Regions from separate parts of the Homo sapiens genome. Here all the other regions are linked to region 1. The links are contacts of gene promoters, found by promoter capture Hi-C in blood cells and fetal thymus (Javierre and others, 2016). All regions are on one chromosome and are shown on one strand. The core of a region is centred on a gene start or on the middle of the fragment in contact, and the rest is flanking DNA. Distances in the headings are between cores, read along the strand shown. Region 1 holds the start of ANO1 (anoctamin 1). Region 2 holds the start of FGF3 (fibroblast growth factor 3). Region 3 holds the start of FGF4 (fibroblast growth factor 4).

Region 1 (2,711 bases), core at 150-2,649:
CTTCAGGCACGCTTAAAACTCCCATGAGAAGGCAGAGGCTCTGAGGCCCAGGAGGCTCTGAGGCCAAGGAGGCTGGCACAAGGTCACAAGGCTGGAAGGTGCCAGAGCTGGAGCTAGACCCCACCCCTTCTCTCCAACCCTATCCTAGCTGACTCCAGGTTCCATGCTTGGAACCATGGCACGCTGACGACATCGTGGCCTTTAAAGACAATTTTCTAATCACTTCTGTAGGCCTTGAATGTTCCCCAGTGGCCATTTAACAAGCAATTATTGAGCATCGGCTGTGTGAACCTGGTAGACAACCCACTGTAAAATGAGACGGAATAAATGAAGTGCTAGTTGGGGTTCAGGCAGGTTCTTTGGATAGACAGGAAGGCCTGCATATTTGGGTGGGAAGGGGACAGTAGGGGAGAATCCAGCAGGACTTCCTGCAGGAGGTGCTATCTGATGCACACCGTGAAGAACTCATAGGATGTGAGAGGCAGAGGGACACTTTATTTCCACTGGATGTGGTGGCCAGCATGGCCCCTGGGGCTTAACCTGAGTATGGTCGTCCCCTGGGGACCTGCCTTATTCTCCTTAGGGGAAGAAGACTTGAAGATCTGCAGTGTGCCAGACCCCTGCTAGGTCCGGGGGTAAGAGAGATCAAAGCCACCATCCCCCCCGCTCCGCCCCTCCAGAAAGCAGGACAGCCTTGCCCAGCAGTGGGGAAAGCTCTGCAGGAGCCCCGCCCCACCTCAGAGGATGCGGACTGGTCCTTGGCCCTCCTAAGCCTGAGTGTCCTCTGCAAAATGAGGACCCGCATTCCAACCTTGCAGGTGCGGGGTTAAATGAGATGATACACACTCACGCCCTACATCAGGGACGCTGCACGCACCTGGGCACAGAACACTAAGCACTCCGTAAACTCGGGGGCACCGGTAACATCAGTGGGCTCCAGGGAGATGACTGCCCCGGGAGAGACTCCCCCAGGAGCGCGGGCAGCTGGAGGGGGCGGGTCGGCAGGAACCAGGCAAGCTCCCCGGAGGAGGTGAGTGCTGAGTGACAGCAGGAGTTTGCCAGGGTGGAGGGAAAGGGGCAGAGATCCAGACTCCAATCTCAGAAGCTTCACTCCCCCCGGAGGCGGAGGTGACGCGCCACAGAAGCGCCTGCCACTCGGGGACTTTATTTCAGGTGGGGCTATTGAAAGTTCCCCCCTTTCACACCCGGTATGAAAACCCTCAAAAATCCAAAGGGGCACTTTCCCTGGATAAAAATAAAACTTGGAGGGGCCCGCAGGAATGGAATACTTTTTCTTCCTGTGTTTAAATTTCTACGGAAAATCTGACCGGCGCGGCCACCGCCCCTGCCATAGGCGGGCGGAGAGCGCTTATATCTTTAAGGCAAAGGCGGGCCGGCTGGCGTCCAAGTTCCTGACCAGGCGCGGGCCGGCCCGCGGGACCAGCAGCCGGGTGGCGGCGCGATCGGCCCCGAGAGGCTCAGGCGCCCCCCGCATCGAGCGCGCGGGCCGGGCGGGCCAGGGCGGCGGGCGGAGCGGGAGGCGGCCACGTCCCCGGCGGGCCTGGGCGCGGGGAGGCCCGGCCCCCTGCGAGCGCGCCGCGAACGCTGCGGTCTCCGCCCGCAGAGGCCGCCGGGGCCGTGGATGGGGAGGGCGCGCCGCCCGGCGGTCCCAGCGCACAGGCGGCCACGATGAGGGTCAACGAGAAGTACTCGACGCTCCCGGCCGAGGACCGCAGCGTCCACATCATCAACATCTGCGCCATCGAGGACATCGGCTACCTGCCGTCCGAGGGCACGGTGAGTGCGGGCGGCCGCGACCCGGGCGGGAGGGCCGCGCACCTGCGCCTTGGCGAGGGCGGGAACCGGGCGGCGGCAGGGCCTCCTGGGACCCCAGGGCGGGGGCCGCACCCTCCGCGCAGGGTTCGCGGCGCCCACCCGCGCACGTGCGTGCCGGGAAGGGCGCGCCGGCCCTGGCCAAGTGCGTGCGCCCCGCCTGCGCTCTGAGCGTTCCGAGCGCGGCGCCCACTCCGCCCAGCGCAGCGCCGGGCCCCCAGGCATGGCCCGGCCTCGGAGCTCTGCGGCCCCGAAGCCGCCTCACCCGGGGCTGCAGCTCGGAGCCCAACCAAGAGCTCACGGCTGGCGCCCTGGATGGGACCTTCCCTTCCTGGCTCGCGGCCAGGGGTACCTGTTGGGGCAGCCAGGGTGAGGGTGATGGTGGGGGTCTTGGGTGAAGGCCAAGTTGGTCGCCACTCCACGATGATGGTAACTGCCAGGCCCCACTGCTTCACTATCCTCTGGGGCCAGAGTCCCGAGTCCTCACTTGCCAGAAACGCATATTGTGCCCAGGGCACTGGGCCTGGTACCCTGGCATTGGCACCGAAACTCTCAAAGCCCAGGGTGTCAATCATTGGAGATTGCTTTCTACCCTCGCCCCTGTCTCCCCTGGGCGCCCAGGCCTGGTTCAGGTGGGGGCACTGGTTGGAAGCCAGTCATGTAAGTTGGGGACCCCATCCTGAGGTCCCCAATATCCCCACCACCCTCCCCAGGGCCAGACCCAGAGGTCTAGGTAACCCTATGTTTTAGAGAGGGGGGCAGAATTCTCCCAGGAAGGGTTTGGCTTGAAGGACAAAGTTTGCCGGAAGAGGATAGGACAGGGCTGGGACTGGCTATCTCCTCTTGGGGTGAGGGAAGCTCTCAGCAGCAATTTGTGG
Region 2 (2,756 bases), core at 252-2,751, 260 kb before region 1:
GCGCAGCCCGGGCCGCGGGTCCTGCGTGCGGGGGCCGGAGTGTGTGTGTCTGCACCCCCAGGCCCGGGCGGACACCGTTCCGCGCTCGTGATCCGCACGTCCCGACGGCGAGGGCCTCCACCCTCCTGTCGCTGTGCGGCCAGGGCGGAGGCGGGGGAGGTGCAGATTCCAGCGCGGGGAATAACTGTCGGTGGCGGCCGCGGCCAGGGAACCGAGCTCCGCAGGGCAAGAGTCCTCCGCGCAGAGGCAGCAGCGGGGGCGGCCACCTGGGCAGCCGCGAGCGGGGAGGGCGGAGGGGACGGCGGGGCGTCCAGGGGTCGGCAGGAGGAGGAGAAGTCGTCAAAATAATAAAGAGGATGATAAATGCCTTGTCCGGCTCCTTTTCTCCGACACATTCAAAGGGCTTAAACTTGTCAGAGCTGCCCAAAGCAGCAGAGCCTGGAGCCCCGGGGTCGCCTAGCTCGCGTCCCCTCAGACCAGCGGGCCGGACCGGGGACGGACTCTGACAGCCGCCGGCGCCCTCTTCGGACGTGAACGCCCATGCCCCCGAGTTCTGCTCGAACCCCAGCGCGCGCTCTTCTCCCGGACGTGTAGGTTGAGGAGGGCACCCTGGCATTCCCCTTCTGGCAGCGGGAGGCAGACGGTCTTTTCCCGGACACCCCGGGCGCACCATGCCTTCTCCCGGGCCAGACCCCTCCCCGGCGCCGCCTCCCCCGCGGGGCCCCGCAGCGCGCCTTCTCCCGGGCCCGACCCCTCCCGGCGCCGCTTCCCCCGGGGCCCCGCAGCGTCCGGCACTCACTGTAGGCGCTGTTCTCCAGGCTGCCGTTGACGCGGCCGCTCGGGTGCAGCTGGAGGTGGTACTTCGTGGCGCAGTAGAGCTTGCGGCGCCGGGGCGCCCCGCCAAGGTGCTCGTAGACGCCGCCACGGCCGCCCGCATCGCGCCGCAACCGCGCCCCAGGGCCCGCTGCGGGCCAGCCGGGCTCCAGCAGGCTGAGCAGTAGCAGCCAGATTAGGCCCATCGTGGCATCGCGCCCGCCCCGCGGCGGCGGCGGCTGCAGGCGAGCGCGGCGCCCATGGAAGGGGCGGCAGCCGGACAGCTGCGAGGTGCTCGGAGCGGGATCCCGCGCCTGGAGATGCTGACTCCGGCTTCGCGGGAAAGGTGGGGGAAGAAGGGGGAAGGGTGGGCGAGAGAGAGAAAGAGAGGGAGAGTGGGAGAGGGAGAGGGAGAGAGGGAACGCGAGTCCCTTTAATTTCCACCCAGGAGCAATGAAATTTCCGTTGCTGCGCAAAGCGCTGAAAGAAAGGACGGTTCGCCAACAAAAGGCCGACGTGGTCCCCAGGCGGAGGCGCGGGAGGGGCGGGAGGCCGGCGGGTGGGGAGCCCCGCGGGGCTCGGGGTTCGGGCCGGGCGCCGTCTGCATACACTCGCCGCCAGCGCACCGCCGTCGAGCCGCGGCTCCGCTCCGCAGCGCGCCCCACGCCCCCGAAAGCCCTCCTGGCTCTGAAAGGTCCCCTACCCGCCCCTCCCCCGCCCCCTCCCCCAGACCAATTATGCCTCCGAAAATTATAGACCGAGGCCTTGAGGAGGCCGCCCCAGGCCCTGTCACCCCCTCCCGCTCCCCATCAATCCCCCTGCACAATGGGGCCGCCGCCGATGACTGATGTCCGTGAAAACAACTTGCGGGGAAGTCGAGCTGACAAACGCCCATTAAAGGCGGCGCATAATGAAGGGGACCGCGGAGGGCGGCGGCAGGGAGGCTCCGGGGCGCGGGCACGCGTGGGGAGCTCCGGGTTTGTGTCTGCGCCCGGCGCTTCCTGCAGGAGCAGTGGCGCTGTCCTCAGCCTTGCAAGGCGCGGGGCAGGCCGGGTCTGGAGATGCTATCTCCTTTTGCGCACACCAACTGGGCACCCGGAGTGGTGGGGTTAGCTCTCGTCTGGCAGGCCTCGGAGGATCCCGTCCCAGTGACGGTCCAGAGAGGGGCCTGGGGAGGCGGGAGGAGGGACGCGAGAGCCAGAGAAGTGGGCGCCGACAGAGAGCCCTAGAGAGAAAGAGATGCAGATAGAGACAGACAGAAACGGAGGAGGAAAGGACGGGAAAGACATGGAAAATGTGAATGACAGAGATCGCCAAAAAGAGGAGGCAGGGGAGATGGAAAGAAGACAGAGCCGCGGAGAACACCCAGAGAAAAGCACAGGGAGTCTGGTAGCCACAGCGGGTGGGTGATGACAAGAGGAACCCGGTAGAAGCTGGGAATGGGTGTGGGGGAGTCCTGGCCTGGAGGATCTGAATCAGTGCAGATGCCCAGGTGGTCCCCTGGACTGTGTGGGGGTCAAGGTGTATCTCAGGGGGCCCAGTGAAGAGGGGCTTCAAAAAGTATCGGGAAAAGCCATGTCCCCACCCATTTCTCTTGCTTCCTGGTCCTCTGTCCCCCAGGGTCCTGGGGCCAGCAGGAAGCAGGGGCCAGCACAGGGGATTTGCTTCTCTCAACCCTGCCCCAGAGGAGGGCACGCTGTGGAGTCCAGGGGTCTAGGCCACAGCTTTGGCTCCAAGTTGACCAGGGGCTCTGGGGTGAGTTGGGTGGGCTGACATTCCCCAGCCTGCCATCTGCATCAGGGTTTGGGGTCAGGCAAGTGTGCAGGGCACCATGAGCTGTGGCAGTGAGCACACACCCCTGGGACGTGTCCAGCTCCCATGGCCCAATACACACAGGGCAGTGTGTCCTCTGTGAGCCCACTCCAGCGTGCACAGGGTCCAGG
Region 3 (2,700 bases), core at 121-2,620, 300 kb before region 1:
GCCATGTCCGCTGTTCCCAACTAGGTGCCTAGCCAGACCCCTGCGGTACTCACCGAGCCATAGAGCTTGCCCTTGCTGCTCATGGCCACGAAGAACCGGCTGGCCACGCCGAAGATGCTCACCACGCCCCGCTCCACGGGCGAGAGCTCCAGCAGGCCTGGGGGCGGGGCGCAGGTCATTGCGGGGCAGGTGATCCCTGGCCCACTCCGCCCCTCGGCTTGTTCGCCTCCGGGGACCCTATTTCTGGGGTGGGGTTGGGGATAAAGGGCCAGGGTTCCCGGCGCAGCCGCCCCCAAGGGCCTCCAGAGCCCAAGCTGCCCTCTAGGGCCTCCGGAGCCCAAGCCTGCGCTAGCTCAGATTAGCTTGCCTGTGTAGGGGACCCCCGGCGGCCGCACCCAGTCCCGGACCTTCAGACGCGAGCCCGACCCCAGCGGTTCCCCAGCCTGGGCCAGGCCGGGGCGCGTGTCTCGGGCCCCCTGTGGCTGCACCGCGCGCCCTGTGCCCACGGGCGAAGGCGCTGGAATTCGGCGCTCGGAGCCCGAGTTTCTGAAGGCGGGAGGCGGCGCCCGACCTCAGGGGTTGCGCTGGGCTGCCGGAGCCAAGAGTGTCTGCGTCCCCAGCCCCGCGTCAGAAGGGACCGGAGCCCGAGTCCGCCCCGGTTCCCGGGGCCCCCGAGCAGGTGCCCGCCGAGGGTCTCAGAGTGTGACTGAGCGGGTTGGCCCGGCGGCCGTTGCCCCCCGCCCCCGCCCCTTCGCGCCTGGCCGCGCCACTCACTGTCGCGGGTGTCCGCGTGCGCGCCGCCGATGCGGCCGTCGGGGAGCGCCTGGAGGTGGAAGCCGATGCCCACGTTGCAGTAGAGCCGCCGCAGCCGCTTGATGCCCAGCAGGTAGTCGCCGGCGCCGCTCTGGACGGCCGCCTCCTTGGGCTGCGCTGCCACCGGCAGGCGCGCCAACGAGAGCGCCACCAGGCTCTCCCAGCGGCGCTCCAGCTCGGCCTCCAGCGTGCCGTTGGGTGCAGTGGGTGCGGCGGCGCCCCCTCGGCCCGCCCAGGGCGCCAGCAAGGCCAGCAGGACCGCCGGGAGCAGCGCTACCGCGGCCGTCCCGGGCCCCGACATCCCGGCCCGAGGGCCGTGCGTCGGTCAGGCGGTCAGTGCGCCCGGGAAGCTGGGGGGCAGAGCTGCGCCTGTGGCGTCCCGCGGGAGCGCACGGCCGACCTCGGGCAGGAGTGCGCAACCGAGGAGGTGCGGGAGGCAAGCGACGGGGCCCCCGGGCGCCGGGCTCTACCCCGGCTGCATGGAGCGGCGAGCCGGGCGGAAAGCGCGCGGCTGGAGCTGGGACTCTGAGGAGCAGTGCGCGCCTCCCTGAGCGCCAGGCCCGCCCGAGGCCGAGCCGCTATATATATAGCCCGGCGCCCCCTCCTACTCGCCCGCTCCCGCGGGGGGCCGTTCGCGTTCTCCTGGGCGCCCGGGGCGCTGTGGCGTTCGCGGCTGGTCGCAGGCCGCCTGCCAATCAGGGCCGGGGGAAGGGAGGAGGCTGGGGACTAGCGCCGCGAGTGCCACCTGGAGGGACCCCGGCCCCCACCCTTGGCTCCGCCCGGCCCACGGACCTGTTCGTCCCGCCCCTTGGCGGCTCCTACACTTCTGCTTTTCAGCCAGTTTTGCCTCTTGCACTTTGTCCCTGCCTGTCCCCGTCCCCGTCTCCCTCTCTGCTCCGGCCGCCTTGGCGCAGCCCTAACTCGGGCATCCGAAGCTCCTAGTGGGCGCAGAAGCCAGCGGCTGCTGCCTGCCCTTCGCCTTTCGGAGGCTCACGGGAACTTGGTTCCTTTGCTGGGGCCTTGAGGACCGGCCTGGGAAGGAGGGGTGGATAAGAGCAGTAAGCGACACCGGGGCCTGGCTGGGCAAGGGAGGACCCTTTGGCTACAGGCGGGAGGGAGGCCACCCCCACCCCCTAGGTCTTGGCCCCACAGGCTTGGCGCGTTTCTGGGCTGGAGTTCTGAATACCTGGTGGAGGTCCACCTGAGCCAAAGGGCAAGGTGGCAGAGATGCACCCAGGGAGGCCTGGTCCTGCACCCCCTACACACACACCCTTCCGTGAAAGGACAGGTAGCAGGGCATAGGGCCAGAGGGGATATTCAGCATCCCCTGCTCCTTTGATTCCACAGCAGAAATATCCATGTACCATAGCCAGAGCCCTCAATCTAGCAGGGACCCAGGCCAGGCCTCTGGAAGCCTCCCCTCTCTCACTCATGGTTCTACCTCCCACTGTGCCCATTATGGCCTGATGGGGACTGTCCTAGCTAGATGCAGGCCCACCTAGGTGTGAAAACCCCTGTTCTTTGTGGTCCCTGAGGAGCCTGCCTGGCCCTTCCTGCAGGCCCGCCTAGCCACAGCTGCAGGGGGCTTGGTGCCTACCCCATCTCTCATACCACCAGCACCTGTGACCAGAGATGTCCCCAGGCCACCGCAGCCTCCTCCACCTCCACCGCATCCCCACAGGGAGATTCCTGGGACCCCTTCAGAACCCTGCTGGGGCTTATTCGTGCCCCTGGAGGGGACCTGGGAGGCTTGAGGGCTCTTCTCTGAGGTGCAGAAAGGGGGGCACTTGGGGGTCATCAAGTGGCTTTGGCAGGACCGGAACCTCAGCTCCGCACCCCTTGAGAGGATCTTTGTTCCTCCTTGGGCCTGCAGCCTGCTTGGGCAGC

Evidence for each region. Contacts are between HindIII fragments. The CHiCAGO score rates a contact against its expected background, and 5 or more counts as called.
Region 2: the fragment with the promoter of FGF3 here is called in contact with the fragment with the promoter of ANO1 in region 1 in 4 of 17 cell types (neutrophils, M0 macrophages, total CD4 T cells and 1 more); the score reaches 7.4 in neutrophils.
Region 3: a contact is called between the fragment with the promoter of FGF4 here and the fragment with the promoter of ANO1 in region 1, in 11 of 17 cell types (endothelial precursors, naive CD8 T cells, M0 macrophages and 8 more). The highest score is 12.7, in endothelial precursors.

What each region holds. Positions count from the first base shown.
Region 1 is chr11:70,076,918-70,079,628 of GRCh38, forward strand. ANO1 (anoctamin 1) reads left to right here and starts at 1,400. Exons shown (of 26, transcript NM_018043.7): 1 at 1,400-1,797. The coding sequence starts at 1,690. The HindIII fragment of the contact is 4,637 bases long and covers 1,104-2,711 here.
Region 2 is chr11:69,817,915-69,820,670 of GRCh38, forward strand. FGF3 (fibroblast growth factor 3) reads right to left here and starts at 1,502. Exons shown (of 3, transcript NM_005247.4): 1 at 800-1,502. The coding sequence starts at 1,019. It overlaps LOC107984368 (a long non-coding RNA gene), which reads left to right and starts at 794. Exons shown (of 3, transcript XR_001748071.2): 1 at 794-1,159. RefSeq lists promoters at 1,117-1,954, 1,365-1,511. The HindIII fragment of the contact is 14,087 bases long and covers 1-2,756 here.
Region 3 is chr11:69,773,971-69,776,670 of GRCh38, forward strand. It overlaps FGF4 (fibroblast growth factor 4), which reads right to left and starts at 1,371. Exons shown (of 3, transcript NM_002007.4): 1 at 775-1,371; 2 at 54-157. The coding sequence starts at 1,114. RefSeq lists enhancers at 1-270, 2,120-2,700 and promoters at 1,260-2,372, 1,260-1,655. The HindIII fragment of the contact is 22,710 bases long and covers 1-2,700 here.